Regions from separate parts of the Homo sapiens genome. Here all the other regions are linked to region 6. Evidence: promoter capture Hi-C in human tissues and cell types (Jung and others, 2019). All regions are on one chromosome and are shown on one strand. The core of a region is centred on a gene start or on the middle of the fragment in contact, and the rest is flanking DNA. Distances in the headings are between cores, read along the strand shown.

Region 1 (3,984 bases), core at 1,113-3,612, 890 kb before region 6:
TGTGTATGTGTGTATTTGTATGGTGGTTTGGTTTGTGCATTGCAACTGATTTCAAAGCTATGAATGATTTATCCCATTTGGTGACTCTAGAAGCACACTTTCTGGCTTTAGTTAGCTAAGGTGTTTTATAAATCTATTGAGTAGATGTTATTTGCTAAACATGTTTTTATTTTCCCTCCTTTAGAATAGATTGTTTCTAATAATGCAATACTAGGAAATGTCTCCATTAAGAAGTATTTAGATGATATAGAAGTATTTCAAGTCTGTCCAGGTAGAAAATATTCCAGAATTAAGTATATGTGCTAGTTGCTTTCAATTAAAAGTTATAATCAGCTTAGAGAAAGCCTATAGTTAAAATGGCTTAGTTTTTTTTTGTTTTTTGTTTTTTTGTTTTTTGTTTTGTTTTGTTTTGTTTTGTTTTGTTTTTGAGACAGACTCTCACTCTGTCACCCAGGCTGGAGTGCAGTCTTGGCTCACTGCAACCTCCGCCTCCTGGGTTCAAGCGATTCTCCTGCCTCGCCTCCCGAGTATTTGGGATTACAGGCGGCCACTGCCATGCCTGGCTAATTTTTTTTGTATTTTTAGTAGAGATGGGGTTTCGCCATGTTGGTCAGGCTGGTCTTGAACTCCTCACCTCAGGTGATCCACCTGCCTCAGCCTCCCAAACTGCTGGGATTACAGGTGTGAGCCGCCGCGCCTGGCAAAATTTTTTAACATATTAATTTTTTTGTTTGTTTTTTTGAGATTGAGTCTCACTCTGTCGCCCAGGCTGGAGTGCAGTGGCACAATCTTGGCTCACCGCAACCTCTGCCTCCCGGGTTCAAGTGATTCTCCTGCCTCACCCTCCTGAGTAGCTGGGACTACGGGCGTGCGCCACCACGCCAGGCTAATTTTTGTATTTTTAGTAGAGACAGGGTTTCACTACCTTGGCTAGGCTGGTCTTGAACTCCTGACCTCGTGATCCACCTGCCTCAGCCTCCCAAAATGCTGGGATTACAGGCGTGAGCCACTGTGCCTGGCCTTAACATATTAATATTTAAGATAAAATGGATATGCAAAGAATTTTCTTTATTTCACTATATATATCTGTGCACACTAATTTTCAGTATAAGACTGGCTGATGATTTTCTTGGTACTTTAAAGCAACTTATGATTTTAACACACTTCTCTAAAATTACCATCTTAGCTTTGAGAAGAGAGACCATTATCACAATGTCAAGGTTGTAAATCAAGTTTAGTGTTAGAATGTCTACATCTGCTGTCTCCTCGGGGTTCAGCTTAGTACGTCTCCAAGGTCACAGTTGAGTCTACTGAGGGCTCTGTGTTCCTGAGGGAGCAGATCTCGAGGGCCACCAAGGAAGAGTTCCATTGAGTTTAGAATCCCCTGTTCCTTGCCAGTCCAGAGAACTCCCTCTAAAACGACAGTTCAGAGTCAGCCCGGGAGTTAGGTCTCACGAATCTCACCTCGTGTTAGCCGTGCTAGGATCAAGGCTTGCTCTTGAGGTAGAGGAAGTGGTACAAAGCAAATATTTGAATCCTTCCTGGTGGAATTTCCTCACTTGGCAATAAGAATCTGCAACAGGGAACTATAATTTCAGTTTCCTGTTATGACATAGCACAGATGCCTGAGCAAAGAGGGGCAGCCTTTTAGTTGAGGATGTTCAGCTAGGCCAAAGCTCACAGATGCCAGGGTTAGAAGGATGGCCCCCTTCATTCTCCTTAGAATGTAGTTATTCGTTCAATCAACAGATAATGCCTGCTGTGTGCCAAGCACTGATCTAAGCTTTGGGGACACAGTGGTAACACAGTCATAGATGAGGAAACAAACTCCAAAAGGATCAAGACTTATCTAAGATCACAGAGCTATGAAAACCAGAAGTCACTAAGCTCACAACAAAAGACTACACATTTTTTCCTAAGGGCAAATGTTTCATTTTGTTGTTAGTTATAGTGCCTTCAAGTTTACATTATAGATCTTTCTGAGGACATTGTGTAACTTTTAATCACGTCCATATGAGTGGCAAATTTGCCTGTATTTTGTATTAAGAACTACATGTAGGCGGGGCACGGTGGCTCATGCCTGTAATCCCAGCACTTTGGGAGGCTGAGGCGGGTGGATCATGAGGTCAGGAGCTCAAGGCCAGCCTGGCCAAGATGGTGAAACCCCGTCTCTACTAAAAATACAAAAAATTAGCCGGGCGCAGTGGCAGGTGCCTGTAATCCCAGCTACTCAGGAGGCTGAGGCAGGAGAATCGCTTGAACTTGGAGGGTGGAGGTTGCAGTGAGCTGAGATCACGCCACTGCACTCCAGCCTGGGTGACAGAGTGAGACTCTGTCTCAAAAAAAAAAAAAAAGGGAACTACATGTGAATTTCTGGTTATGTGCTATTACAGTTAGATTTATGGTGTATTGCGAATTTATCAGGAAGCAGGCTTAACTTAAACTTCTTTCTCTAGGCTGGGTGTGGTAGCTCATACCCGTAATCCCAGCACTTTGGGAGGCAAGATGGGAGGATTGCTTGAGCCTAGGAATTCGAGACCAGTGCAGGCAACACAGGGAGGCCCCCATCTCTACAAAACCAAAAAATTCACCTGACGTGGTGGTGTGTGCCCATTGTCTCAGCTACTTAGGAGGCTGAGGTTGGGATAATCACTTGAGCCTCAGAGGTTAAGGCTGTGGTGAGCTGTGATTGTGCCATTGAACTGCAGCCTGGACAACAGAGCAAGACTGTCTCAAAAATTAAAAAAGTAAAAAAACATCAACTCCTTTCTCTAGCGTGGACTATCCCTATAATCAGACAGGAGCATCTTTATTAAAGGGATTCTTAAGGTAATGTCAAAAGATAACTGATGGTACTGCAGTTGAGAACTAAGACAGGAAGTATGGTGTCAGAAAAGGCTGTCTCACATCTGGTCCTAGCATTGCCATGTGATCTTGGGTAAGTCATTTAAATTTTCTAGACCAGATTCCTTTTCTGGAAGAACTAAGGGTGTTGGAATAATTTCTGTAAGAGCTCTTCTGGTGGCCGGGCATGGTGGCTCACGCCTGTAATCCCAACACTTTAGGAGGCTGAGGTGGGTGGATCACCTGAGGTCAGGAGTTCGAGACCAGCCTGGCCAACATGGTGAACCCCCATCCCTACTAAAAATACAAAAATTAGTTGGGCGTGGTGGCGGGCACCTGTAATCCCAGATACTCGGGAGGCTGAGGCAGGAGAATCACTTGAACTGCAGGAGGTAGAGGATGCAGTGAGCTGAGATCACGCCACTGCACTCCAGCCTGGGCAACAAGACTGAGACTGTCTCAAAAAAAAAAAAAAAAGAGTGCTTCTGATTCTGTGATTGTAGTATTTCACCAAATTGTTTTCTGTAGTTGGACTATATACTGACAAAATAGCCAGTTTCCTTGGCTTTCTTCTTTAAAATATTGTTGGTATAGCTAGATGAGACTCTACATTTAGTTCTGATGTAAACATGAATTCTTGACGTGAAATATCACATGCTTTTATTTCAGGATTAACCTCCATTTCAGCTAATCATGGGAGAGATTAAAGTCTCTCCTGATTATAACTGGTTTAGAGGTACAGTTCCCCTTAAAAAGGTATGTATGGTTTTACTATACCTCTTATTTGCAAAATCTTGTATTGTTTTTGTGTGTGATTTAGATGTCATGTCTTAGTAGTGTTTGAGAGTAAAGGTTACTGCCGAGTATCATGACTGTGGGTTGCAGAGGATTAAGTTCACTCCTTCCCTGTCATGTACAGTCAACTTTTGAGACTCATTTTAGAGTGAAAGCAAGTGTAACTGTACTCATTTTTATTTATTTATTTATTTATATTTATTTTTGAGATGGAGTCTCGCTCTGCCGTCCAGGCTGGAGTGCAGTGCACTGCATGATCTCGGCTCACTGCAACCTCTGCTTCCCAGGTTCAAGAGATTCTCCTGCCTCAACCTGCCAAGTAGCTAGGATTACAGGCATGCGCTA
Region 2 (3,750 bases), core at 280-2,779, 940 kb after region 6:
AAATGTTTATTTACAGATGGTAAATTTTCTTCTATTTTTCTGCATTTCCCAAAATGTATATTATACATGTATCCTTTTTGCAAAGACAAATAAGGTGATTAAGAACATCAAGTCAGGGCGGGACGCGGTGGCTCACGCCTGTAATCCCAACACTTTGGGAGGCCAAGGCGGGCAGATCACTTGAGGTCAGGAGTTCGAGACCAGCTTGGCCAACATAGTGAACCCCCCCCCCACCATCCCCCGTCTCTACTAAAAACACAAAAAGTAGCCGGACATGGTGATGGACACCTGTAATCTCAGGTACTTGGGAGGATTGAGGCAGGAGAATCGCGTGAACCCAGGAGGCGGAGGTTGCAGTGAGCCAAGATCGCGCCACTGTACTCCAGCCTGGGTGACAGAGCAAGACTCTGCCAAAAAAAAAAAAAAAAAAAAAAAAAATCCAGTTAGACCAATTTTCTGGTAAAGTGTCTTTCTGGTTTCTTGCCTTTTGGTCGCCCATGACACCCATTTTTCAAGCATAGAGTTTCCTCCTCAAAAATAGAGCATGCTGTCACGCGCCGGTAGTCCCAACTACTTGGGAGGCTGAGGTGGAAGGACTTCTTGAGCCTAGGAATTGGAGACAAGCCTGGGCAATATAGCAGGACCCTGTCTCCAAGGAAAAAAAAAAAAAAAAAAAGAATAATGGCGTGTTCCTGTGGTCCCAGCTACTCGGGAGGCTGAGGCGGGAGAATCGCTTGAGCCCAGGAGGTCGAGGCTGCAGTGAGCTGTGATGGCACCATTGCATTCCAGCCTGGGCAAAAAAGCGAGACCTTGTCTCAAATAATAATAATGATAAAGACTCATGTTCGGTCATCGGTGACATTCGCCTTTCTCAGGCCCCCTAGTTGTCCACTCTGCAAAGGACGAGTAATCCTCGGAAGGGGTGGGGCCTCTTAGTGAATGAGGCACAGCAGCGAATCCGTGCTGTTTTAAAAACTTTTTTTCAGAACAAAGCAAACCTAAGGCACAGCCATACCCCGCAGAAAACTTCGAAATCTGCGCCTTGAAAAGGGAAGCCAAAAGGATACGAGCCTCTTTCATAATCTCTCTGGCACGTATTAATGGTTAATAATACTGTATTTTTTAATACACAAAAGAAGAGAATAGTGGCATTGCCCCGTGTGCCCACCCCCAGAGCTAACCGAGAGCGGCCGGGCCAGGGGGCCGGGGGCTGAGCGGCCCGCCGGGTTCCGGGGTGGCGCCGGCCCCGGTGGCCGCGGGCGCTCCCTCGCCATGGCCTAAGCCCGAGGCCGCTCCCCAGCCAGATTCTGGCCTCAGGCACTGCAGAGCCCGCGGCGCTCGCCAACAAGCCCGTTAGACCCACGGGACTTGGCACCCTGGAACGCTCACCATCCCCGGGTCTTCCCTGCGCCCTGGACCCGAGTACCCTGCTGCGGCGTCCCCCTACCACCGAGAGGAGGGCCTAGAGCAGACAAGCCCGCCCCGCCGCTCCTCCCAGCAGCTTCTATCCCGGAAGTTGATGCCGAGCGCAGATCGCTTGCAGCTTGCTAGCTGTGTGGGCTGGGAGGTCTGGTAGGGCTGAGCTTGCAAGAGGATCAACATGCCTGTGAGTTGTTTACATCGGGCTCCGGGTTTGTTTTGGGCTTCTTTACCGAGAGTCATATGGGACGGATGAGTCCGGCTGCCTCTCGGGCCTGTAGTGTCCGAGAGTGGCGAGGCGGCTCAGGTTGCGCAGCGTCTTCGCGCGTGGCGGGCATGTAGTGACTTGCCCGGTCACCGCGGCGCGGCTGGCCCTGCAGGGGCGTGGGCTGCAATTCAGAGGCGGTGGCTGGGAGGGGAACAGTTCTCTGTGTAGCTTATGAGCGGTCTTGGTCTTTGAGGATGCCCCTGAGGTTGTGATCTTTGGGTCTTTTGGCTTTCCCAGTGATTGGTGTTTCTCGCCCCCTCTGCCTTCTTTCGGAAGCGATTTCCTACTTGTTTTCCTTTTTTAAAAACTGTCCTCGTTGTTGCCTTATATATTAATTCCGTCAAGGACGGTCGCTCAGCAAGAATTCCTGTCAGATCAGCTGTTGAGCCACAGGAGCAAAAATCACCCAGGCGCTGACGTTGTCTGGTCTACTTCAGCAGTTTCTACTCTAAGCGAGTCCACAGTCGGGGTCACTTTCTTTGCTTAGCACCTCGACTTCGCGCAGTTTTCATCGAAGACAGTTCATTACGCAGTTGAGTAAAGAAGGACAAAGTTTGCCTTACCATATGTTTCCTGATCGTGCGAAAGCCCTTTTCTAGGGACTTGGAGAACACAAGTATTATGAAAAGTACTGATGAAAGTTATTAACAGGTTTCGAAAAATAACTTTACTATCTGACGTGTTGCTTCTGCCGAGGATGACCGTTATTCCTGTTTTTGCATGTATATTTCACGTATGGTTAAATGTGCCAGCGTTGTGGTTTAAAACTAATAGTAATAATATGCTTCTTTGTTCAGTTGGCTAGAGATTTACTACATCCGTCCTTGGAAGAGGAAAAGAAAAAACATAAAAAGAAACGCCTAGTACAAAGTCCAAATTCTTACTTTATGGATGTAAAATGTCCAGGTAAAATTTGAAATCTTAATTCCTTTACTAAAGAAAATTTCTGTAGGGATTGCTAGTGTGGTGTGTATAGTTAAGATACATTAGAACCCTCTGTTGAGTAGAAGTGGGATTACAGAATTGGAAATGTCAGGGACATTTTCATAATAAATGTACTGAAACCATTGTAGAAACATTTCGGGGTAAGTGAAAACAGGCATTCAAAGGAGATATGCCATTTGACTTAGCAAGTCTTTAAGCTCTTCAGACGATGAGTTTTCTGTTTCATGATACAAAGAAAAGTCTGTTGATTCTTCAGTCTAAAGCTGTGCTGCCCAATACAATGGCCATTAGCTGAATGTGGCTACTGAGCACTTGTGGATAATCAAAATGTGGATACTCAAAATAGAGATGTTCTTTAATTGTAAAATACTCACTGGATTTTGACGATGTAGCACAGAAAAAAAATACATTGATTACATGTTGAAATGATATTTTGGAAATATTAAGTTTAATGAAATATATTATTGATTTTACCTGTTTTTAAAAAATTTTGTGTCGCTGCTAGAAAAGTTTATGTTACACATGTGGCTTGCTGTTTCATAGCACTGAAGTTACTGATTTTTTTACATATTACCAGAAATGTCGAACAGGTGCTGTTTTCCTCTGCTTTTCATTTTTAACATTGCCTTTTTTTTTTTTTAGGTTGCTACAAGATCACCACGGTTTTCAGCCATGCTCAGACAGTGGTTCTTTGTGTAGGTTGTTCAACAGTGTTGTGCCAGCCTACAGGAGGAAAGGCCAGACTCACAGAAGGTATATCATTTGGCATTCTCCAACCCAGTGATGAGATTGATGATTATAAATGTCTCTATCTTCACTGAAAAGTTTAAAGAAATCTTAATGATTACCAAAATAACTTATCTTTCATTGTGTGCTTTCAGTAAAGAATGGCCTGTTCAAATGGATATATTTATACTCTTGACCTTGCAGTGAACTCCATTGACTTATTTTTCTTAGTTTAGAACACATTTATTCACTTAGTTTGCTTAACTTGGAATAAATTAAGTCAGAATAGAAGCAAAAGAATAACTACATGTTATAGGACATGCAGATTTATTTATTTATTTATTTATTATTTTTTTTTTTTATTAGGAGTCTCGCTCTGTCACCCAGGCTGG
Region 3 (3,745 bases), core at 183-2,682, 750 kb before region 6:
GCAGCAAATCACAGAGGCCTGACTTTGCCCCCTACCTTCACCCACTGAGAGAACCGGCCACTGTCAGGCCAGGAGTATGAGGAGGACAGGCACTATATTTTGTAGAAGAGGAAATGAAGGCTGAGAGGGGAAGTGACTTATCTACCATCCCACAGAAAGGCAGGGCCTGGCCTAGAGGGAGCCCTGACGGACCACTAGCTGCTCCTATCCATGGCCCTGGAAAAGTGGGAGGTGGGCACTGAAGGGACACAGGCAGTCCGGTCCACTCAGGGCTTCCCAGCTGGCCAGGGTTCCCCCAAGGCAGAGAACTTCATCTTTCCTCCCCATCCAAGGAGGCAAAGACATGCCCCTTCCCTTGGGCTGAGAGGGGCTGAAGCTGGGACCCCCTCAGGGGATAAGAAACAAATTCACCTTCCTCTAGACCCAACAGGCCCCTCATTTTAACTTAATCATTCCACAGGCATATATTAAGTGCTTGCTGCGTGCTGGACCCTCGGATAAAGCGGCTGCTGGCAGAACTGAGTTTGCAAGTAAAGGGCAGGGGCAGGGGCAAGACCCAATCCCAGGCCAAGAGTGTTTTGAGTGGTTAGAAGGAGGCTCCAGGGACACAGTTGGTCCAGCCCTCGGGTGGGGAAGGCAGGGACTAAGATCAGACCCTAGGTGGGCCGGACTCCCGATTCCTTCCCTACAGCTAGCTGCTCAGATGGATGTGGAGCGGGGAGAGAGTGGGGGAAAAGATACAGAGACTTATACAAGGGAGAAAAAAGCAACTTCTCCAATCCTCCTGCCACCAAAGCATGGTCACATCCTTGAGACAGGAACCCCCCAACACACACATACACACACACACAGAGTCAGGATCCGATCCTTGAGACAGGAACCCCCCAACACACACATACACACACACACACAGTCAGGATCCGACACACACACACACACACACACACACACACACAGAGAGAGAGAGAGAGTCAGGATCCGACCACGGTAATCGGGGTTCGAGCCCAGTCACCCAGGCCACTTTCAGCAAGTCATCAATCTCGCTGGAGTCTCAGTCTCCTGGTCAATCCAATGGGAACGGTAACAACCACGACGCCCCACAACTGGTGAGAAAGTCAGCGAGAATGAAGGAGGACGCGGTCTGCGAAGTCCCCGATATGGATCCAGCCCCTCGCCCCTGCCCCATTTGCCCAGGCTCTTCCTGAGGTGAGACTGGCGGGAGTGGGGCGGGCAGGAACGAGGGCCTGAGCCCAGGACCGCAATCCCCGTGAGGGGCTCGAGGACCCCAGCCCAACGCCCCGCCGGGCCCCGCCCTCACCTCCTCCTCCATGGCGAGTCCGCCGAGGTCCCGCCGCTCCGCCACTCGCTTCCAGCGCCGCGCGGGCTCTGCCACCGCGTCTACGCCCGGCCAGGCGGCGACTCTCCGCGTTCTGTCCCGCCGGCTGCCGGGGGCCCAAGAAACTTCGGGGGGGCGGGGCCGGGGGCGGGGTGAGGCTTCCGGGGGCCGGGGCGGGGCCGGGGAGGGGGCGGTGGGGCCGGGGGCCCGGCCCAGGGCGGGAAATGGGTGGGGAGGGGCGGGGCCTGGGTTGGAGACTGGACGGAGGAGCCGGGCGGAGATGCAACTGGAGGAAGAGGGCGGGACGGGGCGGAGAAGGTTTCCCGCATCGGCGGAGGGAGAGGGACTAGGAGGGGGCTGCGGCGGGGGAGGAGAGGGGGCTTCCGGCCCAGAGACTGAGGCGAGGGTGGCGGGAGCGGCGCGCAGGCAGGGCTGGGGTGGGGCGCACACAGTGAGCGCTGGGGGCGCTGGCGGTGGAGCCTTTGAGGTCTCCCGAACCAGTGGGCTGGGGTTGCGAGACCGAGCCGAGCTGCCCTGGGCGGCCAGAGATGTGGGCACACAGAGGCTCCTCCTCTTTCCTCCCCGACGCCGGGCAGTGGGCGGTGGCCTGGTCTTCTCCCTGGAACCTCTGGGCGGGGCCGGGCCTGGAGCTTGGGTCTCTGTCCGGAGGGTGGTGTCACAGGAAGAGCTGGAGCTGAGAGTCGGGACTCCGGGGTCCCTTTAGGGGGCGGCCCGCCCCTGGCTCTCAGGGGTCTCCAAGCGCAGTGTTCTCCTGCTCTCCTTGGGCATCGCTCAATCCCTCCCGTATCTGAGGGTCGACCATCCCCCCGATCCCGCGGTGAGCTTGCAGCCCTGACAGCCTTACTGGAGAGTGGGAGTGTGGGGACCAGCAGAGAGTAATGATTTTAGTTATACCATGCGCCCTCATTTTACATTGGAGAAACTGAGGCCCAGAGAGAGAAAGTAACTGGCTGCATCGCAGCCTGCAGCACCGCTCCCCTCTCACACACACACGCATACTCCCCCTTAGCTCTCCTGGTCAACCCCGTCCCATGCCAAGGAAGGGAAAATTAAGTGCATGTGAGATCAATGGTGACCTTCTTCGGCTCTGGCTGCCATAGCAGCGGCTGTGCCAGCGACCAAGCTCCCCTTTCACGGCCTTCTGCCAGCCCTCAGGCTCCCAGGCTACTTCCAGCCCTGTACGGAAAAGGGCAGCCTGGGGCTCCCAGGCCAAGGGGGAAGGAGATGCAGGTACACTTCTCCCTCATGCCTAGGCCTGGGATCCTTTAGCTAAAGGAATGAAGAAAATTGAGGCTGATATTATCACACTGGTCAAGAAAAAGAAAGAATAGAAAAGAAAGAGAGAGGAAGGAGAGAGAGAGGAAGGAGGGAGGGAAGGAAGGAAAAAAGGAAAGAAAGAAAAAGAAAAGAAAGAGAAATGAAGGAAGGAAAGAAAGAAAAGAAACAAGGAAGGAGAGAGGAAGGAAGGACGGAGGGAAGGAAGGAAAGAAAAGAAAGAGCTGGGAGCGGTGGCTCACACCTGTAATCCCAGCACTTTGGGAGGCTGAGGCAGGCTGATCACCTGAGGTCGGGAGTTCAGACCAACCTGACCAACGTGGAGAAACCCCGTCTCTACTAAAAATAGAAAATTAGCCAGGCGAGGTGGTGCATCCCTGTAATCCCAGCTACTTGAGCGGCTGAGGCAGGAGAATCGCTTGAGCCCGAAAGGCGGAGGTTGCAGTGAGCTGAGATCACGCCATTGCACTCCAGTCTGGGCAACAGGAGTGAAACTCTGTCAAAAAAAAAAAGGGAGAGAGAGAGAAGGGAGGGAGGGAGGGACGCAAGGAGGGAAAAGAGAAAGAAAGAGAAAGAAAGAAAGGAAAGAAAAAGAGAGAAAGAAAGGAAGGAAGGAAAGATGAAGGAAAATTGAGGCTGAGGATCTGAGATAGTCTGTATATGTAGCAACCTCTTTCGGCCACCACATGGTTTTACTCCCTCAATCTGCAGAGCTGTGCAGCATTCTACTCCAATGATCAAGGACTCAGAAGATCTTGTATCTGGAAACTCATGCTCCACCTGCAGCAGACCAGAGACCCTGGGGAAATTCATTTTGTTACACAGAAGCAGCCCTTTGTAGGGAGAGAGCAGTGAGGACAGGTTGGTTTGACATCCAAATAGTTCTGTCATTTTGGGGAATGAGCCATTGAGAACTACTCTGGCCTCAGTTTCCCCATCTAGCTCAAAAAACCCTCTGGTTTTGCCTCTATACTGTGTGCTTTCATTCAACACATATTTTATTTTCTTTGTCTGTCAGTCCCTACAATAGTGGCTGGGAGATAATGGCAGAGCTCAGGATCCCTGTCCTCTACTGGGGAGAAAGGCATGTAAGAAGATGAGAATGCCGAGTGT
Region 4 (3,864 bases), core at 73-2,572, 680 kb after region 6:
GGTTTTAGCATCAGAAGAATTTTTAGCGGGAGGGGACATTCAGTCCCTCTGAATTCGACATTGGAGTTTCTCACTGGGTCCAGAGATGTCGCTAGGCCTAAGGTGGCCAAACCCTCTGCCCTTGTCTTTCAGCAGAGGTGGCCTGCCATTGGCAGGCAGTGCTAAGTACAAAGGCAGCATCAACCCCAGATCAGGGCAGCTGAGGTCCTTGTTCGGCACCCTCTGCATTTCTCTGGCTTTGCCCCTCGCTGTGGAGTGAGAACAAGCAGCCAAGGGAAGCCAAGGACAAGGAACACTCCCCAGATCCCTGGGGGTCTCTGAGGGTCCTGGCATTCTCTGCTGAAGTGACCCCAAGCCCTCTTCAAGGGACTTGTTGAACTGTTTCCCAAATCCATCCTCCCAAAGGTGGGAAGTGCATCTGATGTACACACCTAGGGGCCCAAGAGGTGGTCAAGGGACAGCTGTTTGCTGGTGAAAGCACATGGTTGGAGCTTGGACAGAGTTGTTTGCATACATGCATGCAAAGCCCTCGGTGGTAAGAAACGGAACCGGGGTAAGTAGAGAAGTGGCATGAGCCGTGGGCCAGGGAGCCCCCATTTACATTCTCATCCCAGCCCCTGCAAATGTTAGGTGTGAGCCTGCCAAAGGAAGAACAGATGGAAAATCTCCAGAAAAAATAACAAGAATCATGAAACCAACACATTTACCAGAGCTCCTGTTTTGGTGGTGAGAGACGCGTCCCCAAAGCCACTGCACTGATAAATCTGGACACGAAGCTTAGTTTATTTTTCATTTAAAAATCAGATAAAATATTAGTTATTTCAATAATGGGTGCATTTATTTTTAAAAGGGTGATAATAGCTCCCTATGTGATTGTGAGGCTAAAATGAGAATGTGTGCCGTGGAGGGGAGCTATTATTACATGTTAATAAGATTCTTCTTTTTCTATTTTCCTCCAGCTGGTCCCTAAGATAATGTTCAAAGCTTTTTCTTTCATTTGTCTTGCTCTGTCTGGTGGGATATTGTTAATAAAAACCAGATACTAAGACATTTTTAAATGTCAAGTGAAGACAAGTTAATAATTGCTCTCCCACAATATGAGAGCAAACGGTGGTCCAGGATCAAAAGCCATGTTTTTCTCCTTTTTGGAGCTGCCAAAATTCCCTTAGGAGTGTGCACCAGGTAAGTGTAAGAACAAGTTCAGAATCTGAATGACATTGTCACAGCCCATGCCAGACCCTAGCTGAGGCCTCTCTCCACTTTGATGTGATTAAATCCCAGTCTTGTCTGCAAAGAAAGCACAGGCTGAAAAACCACGCAGATGAGCCAGGCAATCTGCCCAAATATCAAAACACAAGACCTGCGGATAGTCCTTCAGTGCCCGCGGAGTTGTAAGGGATGTGGCTTGTGCTGGGAAACACAGTTATCATCCCTTACACTTTGTGGAGCTCTTTGTTATTTGCAAAAGGCATAGACATGATTTCATGCCATCCTCCCACAGAGAGCAGAGCTTGTCCACATGGAGCACCTGGAGACGAAATCCTTGGCATTTCCAAAACTCCCGTTTTAGGGGGTTTGGACAGAATGACATTGGCTTTGTGGGTTGGGCAGGGCACCATGTTCTCAGTAAGTAGTGCATAAGTGGCTGCTGGGACTCAGTTGTGCCATCCTCTGCAAGACTCCTAACAAGTGTACAAGCCACAGATGCCTTCAGGGAAACAAAGTCTGGCTAACCCCACCCCCACCCCTGGGCCCCCAGCTGTGGCCCTTCCCATCAAGACCCTGCTCATGGGGAGGCTGCTGAGCTTCTACTTCATGGATAGGACTTTTTTATTTTTAATTTTTTATTTTTAGAGACTCCCTATGTTGCCCAGGCTGGTCTTGAACTCCTAGGCTCAAGCAATCCTCTCACCTCAGCCTCCCAAAGTGCTGGGATTGCAGGTGTGAGCCACTGCACCTGGCCTGGATAGTGGGTTGTGTCTCTGCTCTGCCTGCCCTGCAGGAATGGCTGCTCCTCACCGGGGTGGGCATCAGGAGACTTGGGGTTTGAGCCCCAAATGTCTGAAAGGGATCTCTGGTCTGCAGATCTGGCTGGACAAAGCAGCCTTGGGCATGTGAGAGCCTGGAGCTGGGCATGCAGTATCCTTATCATGGGAAGGGAAATGGGCTACTTTGTCAGCTTTTTCCTCTTTCAGCAGCACATGTTGCTCTGGCTGGGGAAATGGTAGAACTAAGATGATTCTCCAGAAGGCCTGTCAGTGCCGTGGGGCAGGAACAGCCAACCCCTTGCAGTTAGCAGTTCCCAGGAACCAAGTCTAGGTGTTTTCTCAAAGAGCAACAACCCCTCTTCTCTATGGTTCTGTGAGGCCGCCCCTCTTTCTCCAGATAGAGGAGGAAAGACTGGATGCCTCCTTCTGAGTCCTCATGGCTTTTAACCCTCTTGGAAGACAGAGGGAACACATCCCTGAGGGGGCCAGGGTGAGCCCAGGACGGGTGCAGAACCTGGGGTCCAATGCCCGGAACTGATGTTGGGCCCTAGGCTGGATCAGGTGGACAGAGCTTAAATCAGAAGTAGACTGGGCCTGCACTGAGAGTGAGTGTCACGAGGAGTTGAGGAGAGGTGGGGCCAGGGGTTCCAGGAGTGTCGAACCGATGATGGAAGCAGGGAGCAGGTGAGCAGGAGCCAGGTGGGGTGGGAGCCCCAGGAATCAGCAGGTTCCAGGTGGAAAAGAAGCAAGAGGATCAGGAATTTGGCTAGAGGTGACAGGGGCATATGGAGAAGGCTGCTCCTGACTGGCAGTCCTATAGATTCATCGGAGTTAAGAGAGAGAGACAGTCCACCCCAATTGTTCACTCCTATGAGGAATATTGTACAAATTAAAGGAAAAAAAAGAGAAAACCCTATAGGATTAAAAACTGGTCAGGCAGCCAGGTGCGGTGGCTCACGCCTGTAATCCCAGCACTTTGGGAGGCCGAGGCGGGTGGATAACGAGGTCAGGAGTTCAAGACCAGCCTGATCAACATGGCGAAACCCTGTCTCTCCTAAGAATACAAAAATTAGCCAGGCGTGGTGGTGCACGCCTGTAGTCCCAGCTACTCGGGAGGCTGAGGCAGAATCACTTGAACCCGGGAGGCAGAGGTTTCAGTGAGCCTAGATTATGCCACTGCACTCCAGCCTGGGTGACAGAAAAAACAAACAAACAAACAAAAAACAGGTAAGGCGCGGTGGCTCACAGATGTAATCCCAGAGCTTTGGGAGGCAGAGGCAGGCGGATCACTTGAGGTCAGTAGTTTGAGACCAGCCTGGCTAACATGGTGAAACATCGTCTCCACTAAAAATACAAAAATTAGCTGGGTGTGTTGGTGTATGCCTATAGTCCCAGCTGCTTAGGAGAATGAGGTGGGAGAATCACTTGAACCCTGGAGGTTGAAGTTGTGGTGAGCCCAGATCACACCACTGCACTCCAGCCTGGGTGACAGAACAAGACTCTGTCTCAAAACAAAATACAATAATAAAAAATAAAAACAAACTCTTTCATACACTGGCATCTACTTTCCTTTCTAGCCTCACCTCCACCAGTTTTTTTTTTTTTTTTTTAGTAACCTACATCCCAGCCCAAAAAGTCTGTGTTTTCCTTAATACCTTGTGCTTTCCTGCCTCTATGCCTGACTAAGCCATTTTTTGTCCCCAAAATGTCAATTCACTGGCTCTCTGCCAGTGGAAATCTTATTCGTTTATCCTGAATAGGCAAAGGATGCCAACTCATTTAAGAGATACGATTAGGAAGAATATGGAAAAATAGTTATCAAAGAAATGTGAATTAAAATAACAACAAGGCATCATGGCATAGTTATAAAATCATA
Region 5 (3,645 bases), core at 443-2,942, 530 kb after region 6:
AGACGGGTGGATCACGAGGTCAGGAGTTTGAGACCAGCCTAGCCAACATAGTGAAATCCCGTCTCTATTAAAAATACAAAAAAATTAGCCAGGTATGGTGGCACGCACCTGTAGTCCCAGCTACTTGAGAGGCTGAGGCAGGAGAATCACTTGAACCCAGGAAGCAGAGGATCCTGCAGTGAGCCCAGATCATGCCACTGCACTCCAGTCTCGGCTACAAAGCGAGACTCAAATAAAAAATAAAATTAAAAAAAAAAAAAGCATCACAGGCAAAGATCTATTTTTTGTCTACAAAAATCCTTTACATTGTCTATAAACCTGAGAAGAGCAAGCAAATATAAGAATTATGTGCCAATGATTATTTACCCATCATTTTAAACATTAATTATAACAAGAACTGATTTAAAAAAATAAAGTTCCATCTTGGGAAGTCAAGACAAATATATTAAATCAGGTTGTACAGAAAGACCTGATTTGAATCATCAAGAGACTTTCCTGAAGAGTGTTAGCTTTAACCGGGATCCTAGACAAAGAGATAGGGACCACAAGGCAAATCCTGTGGGCAGAAGCACATGACATACAGAGACAGCAAAGCAGCAAGACAGAGCTGTGTTAAGAAAAGCAAGGAGTGACAAAGGCTAGCAGAAAAGACTATCAAAATTACAGAAGAACATTTCCTTGAGCCCGGCACTTTCTCTCTTAGATACCTGCACATGTATGTAAAATACTACTCACTGCAGCACTGTTTAGAACAGCAAAGACTAGAAACAGTCCATAAAGCCACTGGGAGGGGACTTGGACACAAATTATGATACAACTGTAAAATGGTCTGAGGAAGCTATTTGTATACTAATATGAATCATCTCAAAGTGGGGAAAAAAAGATGATACATCACCAATTACATTAAAAATGACATAAACACACACACACACTTGTCTGTATATGCACACAGAATATCTGAAAGGATACACAAAACTCTAGTAACTATGGTTGCTTCCAGAAAACAGAATGAATGGCTAGGGAACAGAATAAAACATTCACTGCATATTCTTTTGTTACCTTTTGAATTTTGAACCACATATGTTTTTGCCTATTTAAGAAAATACACTTTAAAGTATTTTTATGAAAAGCAAAAGGATAGAAAGAGCTGAACATACTAAGAAATCATAAGAAGTGTGGTAAGTACATATGTATGTTGGAAAAGGTCAAAACTTCAAGAAAATTTTCCCTGCTAGGTAACTGGCTTTTAGTTTCAGTGGGGAAAAAAAAGAAAGAATAGGCTTAATGATTTCTCTATCCAAAGCTGCTGATTACATTGAGGGTGTGTGTGTTTTGGGGGTGTGTGTATGTATATATATTTGTGTATTTAATAGATGAAAGATGTTTCTACTTCTACACGCATGTTTGTATTTCAGAGTCCTCATATTTCATCCCAAAGGATCAAGTTCTCTAGACACTGTCTGTCATGTGTTAATCAAGGAAAATGGGCTTTTTAAACCTAAAAAAAATTTCTTTGGGATTATAAATAAACATAAATCAAGATTCATGCACTTACACACAGGCATGTTATAAGAATCTTACCTGCATACCTCACAGGGTAAGAGCTGTAAAAAGCAAGCCCCACCTCCCTGCCTCACACCTGGGCATTGTGCAGTGACCTGCACTAAAGCTTTATCCATGATATAATCTCAAGATCTAGATCTGACCAAGAGAAAAACTGTTCTTTGATTACATAAAAATGGGGAACAATCTCAATTACTGCAGAACTAAGAGCAAGCCCAGCTAAGAATACAAAAGCACCCTATTCTCATCAGCCATTCAAGAAATTTAAGAGTTCATGTATGATCTGAAATCTTCCCCAGAGACTCCACATGCTACATTCGTCAGCCTGGTTACCTTATTCCTTCATCAGTAGGAATATTCCAATGTGGAAATTAAACAGCTAAAAACTACATCATGCTCACAGTTGGGCTACAGAAGCTAGAAAGGACAGAGATGTGGAAAGATTTACAGGAAAAGCAGATTTCTACTGTATAAAATATGATAATGTTTCTAAGCTTTCAAGAATGAGGGATCTTGGTCACCATGGGGATCAAGGAAAACAGTATCAAATTAGTTAACGGGCCTTGTTCAAGGTATGTGGGCAAATCATTGTCAACAAATCTATTATTAGCCAACTCCACAAACACCTGGACTCTAATTTTGGTCATTACCCCACGAGATGTATAAACTTAAACAAGTCGCTTCTCCTCTCTGTCTCAGTTTTGTCTCCTCTAAAATGGGGGCAATATTTCCTGCTTGGCTGGAATTTTGTTCTTGCTTGTTTTTTAATGAAGACCAGATAAAAAATACCCAGTGGGTGGCACACAGTAGGCATTCAATAAATGTAAACTATTATTATATAATAATAAAACACAAAGACTAAACTTCTATCAAGAGTCTACTAGGTGATTTATGTTAGAAATTTTTTTATTAGGTCCAGACCTGGACAGTGGTAACTTAACTGTCATTCCTGCCTTTCCTTCTTAAAGTCAAGACATTCTCAAATTCTTATGTTTTTCCTGACAGGAGATTTAAATAGTATGATACATAAAAGGAGTTTCTTTCAAAACCAAGACTAGGGTTAACACTAGTTACTCATGTCAGATCCTCAAGACTAGACTTTTTAGCAAGGCAACAATTTAAAGTCCTTTGAAGTTAATTACCTTTTAAATATTTATCTATATTAACTACATCTTTTTAGGCAATAGGGCAAGATAGATGACTAAGTTTACTACAGCATGAATTTTTTTTAAAGAAAAGTAGAAGGGATGTATATTAGGTGCCAAAATCATAACTAGTAAGAACCATGACTTGCTTCAGAAGGGTAAAATCGGCAGAAGGTGGCCAAGGCTGCTGTCAAACACCTGTAGTGCCTCAAAGCTGCTATCACCCGAATCCCTACAGGGATGACAGACCTACGAGAAAAGGCAGGATTCCTCTGACAGCTAGGTGTACAGCAGAGGTGTATTTTGCTCAAGCGAGGTGAGACAGAAAGCATGGGCACCACAGCAGCTCTCTGGCCACACCGGGATGTGGCACAGCTGCCTTCTGGAGAGTGCATCCCAGGCGCTTGACCACAGCCTTCCCAGAGCTGCCGAACTCAGCTCCGAACAGTTCATATAATACCATGCACTTCTACTGATCTTATTAATTTTTTTAGCTGGAATAACAAGACAGTGTGTGATGGTAATTATTCTACATTGTGAAAGAATTAAGGAAATTTTGTCCAGTATGTTTTCCTAGTGCGCATAAGTTATTTATAAGGGCTTTATGTTTATAGCAACAAAATACCCCACCTCTTGTTAAAGACATTTCTATAGTCTATTATTTAAATAAACACATGTGTTTAGTCAGATGTATTCAATTTCAGCTCTTCTTCTTAAAAAGAAAAAAACACCAAACCAGTCTTAAGTATTTAGAATATTTAGAATACAACCACTTCATTAGGAATTATTTCAGGAACAGTATAAACACTAATATTAATGTTTAAAAATATCTTCATATAATACTTACCTAAAGTTTGGCATAATCTTCCAAACAACATAAAATAAGGACTCTGGGCTAAATGCAGTCTGGCTGCCTTGCCATAAAGCACAGAGTGTC
Region 6 (3,674 bases), core at 624-3,123:
AGACCACATGTTGCATAAAGAATTTATAGCTGTTTTATTTAGTTGGTTACACACTGAGTAGCTACTGTGAAGAGAAGCATTATGCCAAACAGATAAATTCACAGACCCAGCATTGAATTTTACAGCCTGGAACAACCTATACCAAGTGGTATGAGTAAATATTCTCATAAAATAGCCCAAAACATCTCTACTGGTTCCATAACTGATTACTGATTTCCACATTACAAAGATTATTTTTTTCTAATACCTAACTCTTATTAGAGACCCGGATATTTATTACTGAGGCAGGAGAATAGGGTCTGGAGGCAGGGAACTTAAGGGCAATTCATGCTGAATCAAGGAAAAACACCAAGGTTTGGGGGCAGGGAATCTGAGGTCAACTTACGTTAACTTTCTAAAAGAGAAAACACCAAGGTCTGGGGGCAAGGAATCTAAGGCCAATTCGTGCTGACTTCCCAAAGCTGAATTCCCAAAAGGAACCCCCTGGGTTTGGGGGCAGGGAACCTAAGGCCAATTAAGGCCAACTTCCTAAAGCTAAACCAAAAGGAAAAAACCCATCTGCCCACGCCCGAGTGGCAAAGGATCAAAGGCTACTATCCCTGCAACCCTCCCCATCCACCACGTCTCACATGGAAAGGGAGAGTGCCTTAGACTGGCCGCAGGCCAAGCAGGGACCATCCGTTCATCTGCACAGGACGCCAATTCACCTCGGCCTTTAGCCACAGACCAAATCCTTCATCCAGATAAGGGGTAACCCATAGGAACCATAAAAGGAGCACTTAAAATCCAGAAAACTTTGTAAGTGGGCTCTTGAGCCCCTTGCTCCGGCCCACTCACACCCTGTGGGGTGCTTTCTCGCTTTAATAAATTCCTGCTTTCGCTGCTTCGTTTGTGTTTCATTCCTTTGTTATTTTGTGCGTTTTGTCCAATTATTTGTTCAAAATGCCAAGAACCTCGACAACCTACACTCAAGGGCCTCCTACCGGTAACATTACGGGAAACACCATTTCCTCATCACATTTCAGATTTGCTCCCAGTGAGGTACGTGGGCACTTGAACACATCCCTTTAAAAAGGAGAAAGCTTTCTGATCTATGTAGTGATTTATCTGGCAGTGCCTTCTGTCCACCAGCCTCTGGCCTGATTTTCCTAGAGATCAGAAGAATCAACATAACTTTTGTAAACTAAGATCCAGAAAGGGCCTTTGGTTATTATCGGTAAATGCTGGGCTAAAGAAAGAACTGGTGGGCGGGTCACCACCCCAGGCTAGTCCACATAACGCTATTCATCTTAGAAGCAGTAAGACGGGGGAAAGGTCTGCATCCCATTCGCTTATTCCGTCCTACTGAATCTGCCTTGGCAGGACACGACCTGCAAAATAACCCCGTGGATCCGTGGAGTGTCACCACACTGCAGGGTCAAAGGACGGCGTCGGCGGTTCTCGGCTGTTAGGGAGCTAGCCGACGAAGGCACCACAACCCTCATTCTTTACTCTTCCCGCCTGGGGGCCGGGAAGCCAAGCTCTACCGCTTCGAGCACATCCAGGGTCCCCGGGGCCCGGACTGCTGACACCGAGGCAAGGTCTCACCGGGCCCACTCTGCCCAACCTCCCCGATTCTCGCTTAGCCTCTCTTCCCTTTCGGGGTGCCCTCCCGCCTGCTACCCCGAGGGGTGCAAACTCACGACCACCGCGGCGCCGGTGAAAATGTCCTCCCCCTCGGTGTCGCTGTCCCCAGCCTCGGGTTCTGATCCCCCGGCCGCCCCCTCGGACTCCGGCTCCAGGCCGGGGAAGGGCGGAGGCAGTCTCTCCGAAGCGCTACAGCCACCACCACCCGACGCCATCTTCTTCCACCCGCGGCGGAAGCCGCAACAACAACTTTATCGAGAGATAGCGCCGTGAGCAAAGCGATCCAACGGTGCGAGGAGTGGGAGGGCCGCAAGGGACCCCGTGGGATCCGAGGGGCGGAGACCTAGGGGCGGGGCTTAGGCGCTGGGGGCGGGGCGGCACCCGGCCAGCTGAGGCTGCGCAGCAAATCCGAGGCCTGGTTCGCGATGCTGAGATATTAACGAGTGGGGCCAAAGGGGCAGAAAAGTAGGAGTTAGGGGCTGCTCAGGTTTCTAGGGCCCTTTGTGCTCTGGATAGCTTTATCCAACAGGCTTCTAAGAGTTCGTCTGAATGAAGGAGTGTCACTAAAATGTTTGAAAACCTCTACATGCCATCTACCCATGCCAAGCACAATGCCCTCACAGAGAGTCAATAAATATTTCGATTGAGGTATCTGAACAAGACTAGAAGAAAGCTTCACCACTTATTCCTTGAGCAACATTCAGTTAATTCATTAAGAAATACAGATACTGAGCATCTACTGTATGCCTGGCACCTTGCTGTGAGTTTCAGATACAGAAATCAGGTATTTAATCGACAGTTCGACATGTTCAATGCTATGGTGCCCTGTGGGAGCACAGGGAAAGAGATAATCAATTCTGCTTGGAGAAGTAGGGAGGCCTCACAGATGAAGTGAGGCCTCAGTGTCCTAGATTTGGCTGGAAAAATGTTAGGATTATCCTCTCAATTGCTGTGGAGTAAGTGGAGTGGAATAGACGGCAGGGAAATTATTGAACCCTGACCAAAATTTCCTTGGGACCTAAGCAATTCATTGTCTGGTGATCCTAAGGCCTACATTAACTAGACAAACAAGACTGGAGTTTAAAGATAAATGGGCATGTTAGCATGGGACAATTCTGCAAGATAATCCTATCTTCTCAATAGAAATGGCATTTGTCACCAACTTTGACAAGAGGTTTAGTTAGTTTGGTTGTAACTGCAAATTCAGGGATGGACTCCCTCACAGGTCATGTGAGCTGTTTGAAGGCGGGGGCAGCGTTTTATCTTTGTATCTTCCATGCCTATGGATCACCTATGGCAAATTAGTACCTACAAATTTGATCGGAGGGATGGATGGATAAAATAAAATCGATTTTGTTACTGGCATCCATCACACCCACGAACACCAGAGGGCTTAAGATACACTTTTTTTTTTTTTTTTTTTTTTGAGGGAAGTCTCGCTCTTCTCCCCCAGGCTTGAGTGCAATGGCTCGATCTTGGTTCACTGCAACCTCTGCCTCCTGAGTTCAAACGATTCTCCTGCCTCTGCCTCCCAAGTAGCTGGGATTAAGGCCCCTGCCACCACGCCCAGCTAATTTTTGTATTTTTTAGTAGAGACGGGGTTTGCCCATGTTGGCCAGGCTGGTCTCGAACTCCTGACCTCAGGTGATCCGCCCGCCTCGGCCTCCCAAAGTGCTGGGATTATAGGCGTGAGCCATCGCGCCCGGCCAAGATACACTTTTAAGGATGGCGATCTCCATTATGTCACCACTGTACACATTAGACACGGGAAAACTTATGTTCTAAGTTGTCTTTGGAGGCCATTAGCAGAAATATTCGTTCAAAGGTGGGAAGCTGTGCTGGACTGAGTCCCTTAGGAGACGAGAAAGCCAAAAAGCCCTCCCCATGCCATACCTGACTACCTCACTGGCTTCCCATGACATCCCTTTTCACAGCAACTGAAACCTACTTCCTGTCCGATCAGGAAGTAAGAAAGACGTTGGCTGTCAGCGGATCCCGCGGAGAAATAATTGTAAAGAGTCTCCGTGCTGGAGAACTCAAGATCTCCT
Region 7 (3,867 bases), core at 1,082-3,581, 610 kb before region 6:
GATTTGAAGACCTCAGTTTTTGTGAATTTTTCACTTGCTGACCAGGTGGCTATCAGGGTGGCCACTCCTTTAAACAGAAAGCTGTCCAGAGAGCTTCTGACTCTTCCACCATGCAGATCCAGAGAAAGCACAGGATCAGGCAACTTGGGATCCAAATTCTAACTATACCACTTAATCGCTTTGAATTAAAGCTAGCATGTTAACATGTCTGGTATAGACAGACCCTCAATAAATATTGGATGACAGAATAAATCTCTCTGAGGTTTAATTCTCTTCATCCTTAAAACGAGGGTGGAGAGCTGTTCTAAAATTTAGTACTTTACCCATGATGCTCAATAAATGGTCGCTATTATTGACATAGTGAGTTCTCAATATTTGTTGATTCATGGGTCAAAAACTGTCCTTCAGGTTAAAGGGTTACTTGGCCAGGAATGGGCTGGCAGAAGTGAGACATTCCAGCTCCCTCTGAGGGTCCAGGAGGATTGCCCAGGTCTCTGGGACTATGCGATGGGGTAGATCAGGGCTGGGTTTAAATGTCCAATTTTGCTAAGTACTAATGTAAGAACATACCTGACTTGAACCTGGAGGAGTAGGTAGGGATAGCTGAGGGACAAAGTGGAGGATCTTAAAGTGAACCAGAGTATGAGACCAGCCTTGCCTGAATATCTAGTGATAATCCGGGCAGTTTCGGTATCATTTACCACTTTAATTTGTGTTGAAAAAGCCTTAGCTTGGTAGCTCCAGCCTTCCTTCTGTGCCTCCATCCCCATCATCCAAAACCCAAAAGCATGCTGTTTGTGAAGGAGAGTAACCATATCCTGAGATGACTCCAATGTGAGATGTTTGTGAACTGAAAGTCATAGTGACCGCCGATCTGGAGTGTCACCCTTTCTCTGAGTTATCACTCTTTCTGCAAAGCTGTCCCTAATTCCCTAAATTACTTTCTCTGTGGCATTCCTCAGATTGAGCACTTACTTACCTGGTATTGTGATGACCTGTGTCTCTCCCCTTGACCGGATTGTGACATCCAAGGCAGGAACCTTGCCTGGTTGATTATGGCGTATTCTTGGACTCTAGCACATGCCTGGAGCATACAGTAAGTAGCTATTCAATAATTATTTGTTGGCCGGGTGCGGTGGCTCATGCCTGTAATCCCAGTACTTTTGGAGGCCGAGGCAGGTGGATCACCTGAAGTCAGGAGTTCAAGACCAGCTTGGGCAACATGGTGAAACCTCGTCTCTACTAAAAATACAAAAATTAGCCGGGCATGGTGGTACATGTCTGTAATCCCAGCTACTCAGGAGGCTGAGGCAGGAGAATCGCTTGAACCCGGGAGGTGGAGGTTGCAGTGAGCTGAGATTGTGCCACTGCACTCCAGCCTGGGCCACAGAGAGAGACTCCATCTCAAAAATAAGTAAATAAATAAAATAATTATTTGTTGAATAACTGAATGGATGTAATCTGAGGTGACAGAGTGACCCACTGTGATCTGAGATAATGTGACCTCTCTTGATTGCAATCTGGGTTGACTGTGAACAGAGTCGGGGCTTTTGATGATTGTGTTGAAGTGTCTGTGATTGTAACCTACAAGGACTGTGATCTGAGGGGTCTGCGCACCGGTGACTGTGGCCTTCAGGCACTAATCTGTCATAAGGACCAGTAGGGATAATGAATGGAGGTGACTGAACTAGTAACCTTGCATGATCGATTGAAGTAACTTGCACTGATTGTGATCTGAAGTGACCGTGAACAAGTTAGTGACGACGCTTTCCACGACTGTCTTGTTGTGACTGTGCTCATGATCTACAGAGTTCTGGCTTCAGATGACCTAAGCCAGTGCTTGGAGCAGCCTTGACGATTGACATGAGATGTGTGCGAGATGCTGAGATTGTTGATCTACCCTGACAGCTGAGGTTATTGATCTGCATTATGAGCTGAGATAACAGATCTGTGGGCCTGGACTCAGACTAGGAATGGTGCTAATATGTGTGTAGTTCTCTTAAGATTTCTGATTTTGTTTTAATATCCTCCCAAATGGCACAGCCCTGTTCGGCCCCACGCCAACAAGGAATAGGGATGAGGACCAGGTTGAGTCAATCCTCACAGAAAACTACCGGAAACACAACGCATCTTCTGGGCCGCGCTGCCGCAGCTGCGGGCAGACCCACCGCCTTGGTCATGGCCTCCTGCACAGCCTGCCCTTCGTTCGGACCCCCTAGCCCTACCCCCACGATCGGTCCGTGGTGCGCCTGCGCGGAGGCGGGGCGGTGCTTTGCCCTTTGTTGTGGGCCCCAGTTTCCCAGGACACCGCGCGGCGCTGGGGTGGGGCTATGCAGATGAGGCACTCGGGGGCGGGGCGGCGGCGGCGGCGGCGGCGGTGGCGGCCGGGGAGGGTCAGTTGGAGGCAGGCGCTCGCTGAGGCAAAAGGAGGCGCTCGGCCCGCGGCCTGACAGGGACTTAGCCCGCAGAGATCGACCCCGCGCGCGTGACCCCACACCCACCCACTCATCCATCTATCCACTCCCTGCGCCGCCTCCTCCCACCCTGAGCAGAGCCGCCGAGGATGATAAACACCCAGGACAGGTAACGGCCCGGCCCAGGCTCCCCGCCCCCATCCTCCCTCATCTGCTCCAGAGGGCCTCTCACGTACCCCTAGCCGGCCCCCGCCCCCCGCAGCGGGGCCATCCGCCCCCAGCCAGGTCCGTTCACCACTTCAGCCACCCTAGTCCGGTCCTCAGCCCTGCAACTGGGCCTTCTTCTGTCCTTTAGCCCCCTCTTCAGCCGGGCCCATCCCCCTCATCCGGGCCTTCTCCTCCCCTAAAGCCCCCAAAAGCCGGAACCCAACCTTCCAAGCAAGTCCCCTTTTTTCTTTCAGCCCCACCGAATTGTGCCCCATTCCCCAAACTGGGCTTTCCCCGGCATCCAGATTCCCCAAATTGTTTCCTGTCTTCCTCAAATCTTTCTTACTCCCCTTATAAGTCACTTCACCCTTCCCTTTGAATTCCCTCCCTGATGAAAACTGCACCCCCCACCCAGACTCTTCTCATATCACTGCCCCCCGCAAAGTCAACCTCCATCCTTCAGTTCTCAGTTTACCCCCACTCATCACCCTCCCCCCATTCTCTTCAGGCCTAGCAGTCCTTACACAGATGTCCAGCCTCTTCCTCCTGGTCCCATACTTCAGCTTCATCTTTCCCCCACCTTCCCCTCTCCACACCCCTCTCCCAGTTAGGCCCCATTTTCCCAGTCTCCCAGCGCCATTCCTTTTATTTATCAAACACCAGGTTTGATTCTTGTGCTCCATCCTGTTGCCCCAATGGTATACCCCCAACACTCTTGGAAACATTCTTACCCTCTAAACATCTTTTCTCAGCTGGAACTCATCCTTCTCCTTCCCCTCTTAACTGAATCCCGTCTTTGGATCATTAGATCACAGGACCCAGCCATCTCGCTTCCAGTGAACCTTCCCCCTGTACCTCCAGTGCCTTCAAACCAAGCTCTATATTCTGGACACTAGATCTTTGCAATTTCCTCCCTCAAAACCCGACCCTAGTCTTCCCCCATTAATTAGAGAAAGGCTGCACATCTTTCTCAGACCGAGCACCCTGGTTTTCCAAACTTGCATGGTATATCCTTCCCCCTGCAGATAGTTCCTCAATTTTCCTTTCTCTACATGCCTCTCTTTCTCCAAGACAACCCTTCTCACCTATCTCTCCCTCAAATTTTAATATATCCCATATTTCTGCCTCTGTTCTCTGAAACTGTTCCACAATTTCCTAATTCCCCGGAATTTTTAATCCTAGTTGCTCCTTATACATCAGAATGGCTTTCATTTACAATTTGGACCTAATTCTCTTCCTCATTTTT

What was found. Contacts are between HindIII fragments. The study calls those that stand out against the background at their distance.
Region 1: a fragment that was not itself captured here is called in contact with the fragment with the promoter of SNX1 in region 6 in 1 of the 25 tissues and cell types used here (pancreas).
Region 2: a contact is called between the fragment with the promoter of RPS27L here and the fragment with the promoter of SNX1 in region 6, in 1 of the 25 tissues and cell types used here (hippocampus).
Region 3: the fragment with the promoter of PLEKHO2 here is called in contact with the fragment with the promoter of SNX1 in region 6 in 1 of the 25 tissues and cell types used here (liver).
Region 4: a contact is called between a fragment that was not itself captured here and the fragment with the promoter of SNX1 in region 6, in 1 of the 25 tissues and cell types used here (aorta).
Region 5: a contact is called between a fragment that was not itself captured here and the fragment with the promoter of SNX1 in region 6, in 1 of the 25 tissues and cell types used here (H1 embryonic stem cells).
Region 7: the fragment with the promoter of OAZ2 here is called in contact with the fragment with the promoter of SNX1 in region 6 in 1 of the 25 tissues and cell types used here (hippocampus).

The regions. Positions count from the first base shown.
Region 1 is chr15:64,983,123-64,987,106 of GRCh38, reverse strand. It overlaps SPG21 (SPG21 abhydrolase domain containing, maspardin), which reads left to right. Exons shown (of 9, transcript NM_016630.7): 2 at 3,514-3,600. The coding sequence starts at 3,538. Among named protein-coding and RNA genes, the nearest start is that of SPG21, 4.8 kb to the left of the region's middle. The HindIII fragment of the contact is 4,494 bases long and covers 116-3,984 here.
Region 2 is chr15:63,155,256-63,159,005 of GRCh38, reverse strand. It overlaps RPS27L (ribosomal protein S27 like), which reads left to right and starts at 1,529. Exons shown (of 4, transcript NM_015920.4): 1 at 1,529-1,606; 2 at 2,485-2,593; 3 at 3,275-3,385. The coding sequence starts at 1,601. RefSeq lists a silencer at 1,156-1,255 and enhancers at 1,437-2,010, 1,406-2,065, 2,216-2,305, 1,590-2,789. The HindIII fragment of the contact is 14,496 bases long and covers 1-3,750 here.
Region 3 is chr15:64,839,602-64,843,346 of GRCh38, reverse strand. PLEKHO2 (pleckstrin homology domain containing O2) reads right to left here and starts at 1,432. Exons shown (of 6, transcript NM_025201.5): 1 at 1,319-1,432. The coding sequence starts at 1,330. LOC124903508 (a long non-coding RNA gene) reads left to right here and starts at 3,191. Exons shown (of 4, transcript XR_007064682.1): 1 at 3,191-3,493; 2 at 3,651-3,745. RefSeq lists enhancers at 225-776, 809-1,332 and silencers at 1,140-1,579, 1,590-1,909. The HindIII fragment of the contact is 9,878 bases long and covers 1-3,745 here.
Region 4 is chr15:63,409,526-63,413,389 of GRCh38, reverse strand. The region is part of intron 4 of LINC02568 (long intergenic non-protein coding RNA 2568); the gene reads right to left. Among named protein-coding and RNA genes, the nearest start is that of LINC02568, 21 kb to the right of the region's middle. The HindIII fragment of the contact is 3,934 bases long and covers 1-3,289 here.
Region 5 is chr15:63,562,919-63,566,563 of GRCh38, reverse strand. It overlaps USP3 (ubiquitin specific peptidase 3), which reads right to left. Exons shown (of 15, transcript NM_006537.4): 8 at 3,556-3,645. Among named protein-coding and RNA genes, the nearest start is that of FBXL22, 33 kb to the left of the region's middle. The HindIII fragment of the contact is 6,097 bases long and covers 1-3,645 here.
Region 6 is chr15:64,094,181-64,097,854 of GRCh38, reverse strand. SNX1 (sorting nexin 1) reads right to left here and starts at 1,873. Exons shown (of 15, transcript NM_003099.5): 1 at 1,683-1,873. The coding sequence starts at 1,841. RefSeq lists enhancers at 1,550-1,629, 1,770-1,889, 3,605-3,674. The HindIII fragment of the contact is 3,698 bases long and covers 1,692-3,674 here.
Region 7 is chr15:64,701,745-64,705,611 of GRCh38, reverse strand. OAZ2 (ornithine decarboxylase antizyme 2) reads left to right here and starts at 2,331. Exons shown (of 5, transcript NM_002537.3): 1 at 2,331-2,583. The coding sequence starts at 2,564. LOC124903507 (a long non-coding RNA gene) reads right to left here and starts at 1,069. Exons shown (of 3, transcript XR_007064679.1): 1 at 980-1,069. RefSeq lists silencers at 2,196-2,515, 2,526-2,745. The HindIII fragment of the contact is 8,869 bases long and covers 1-3,867 here.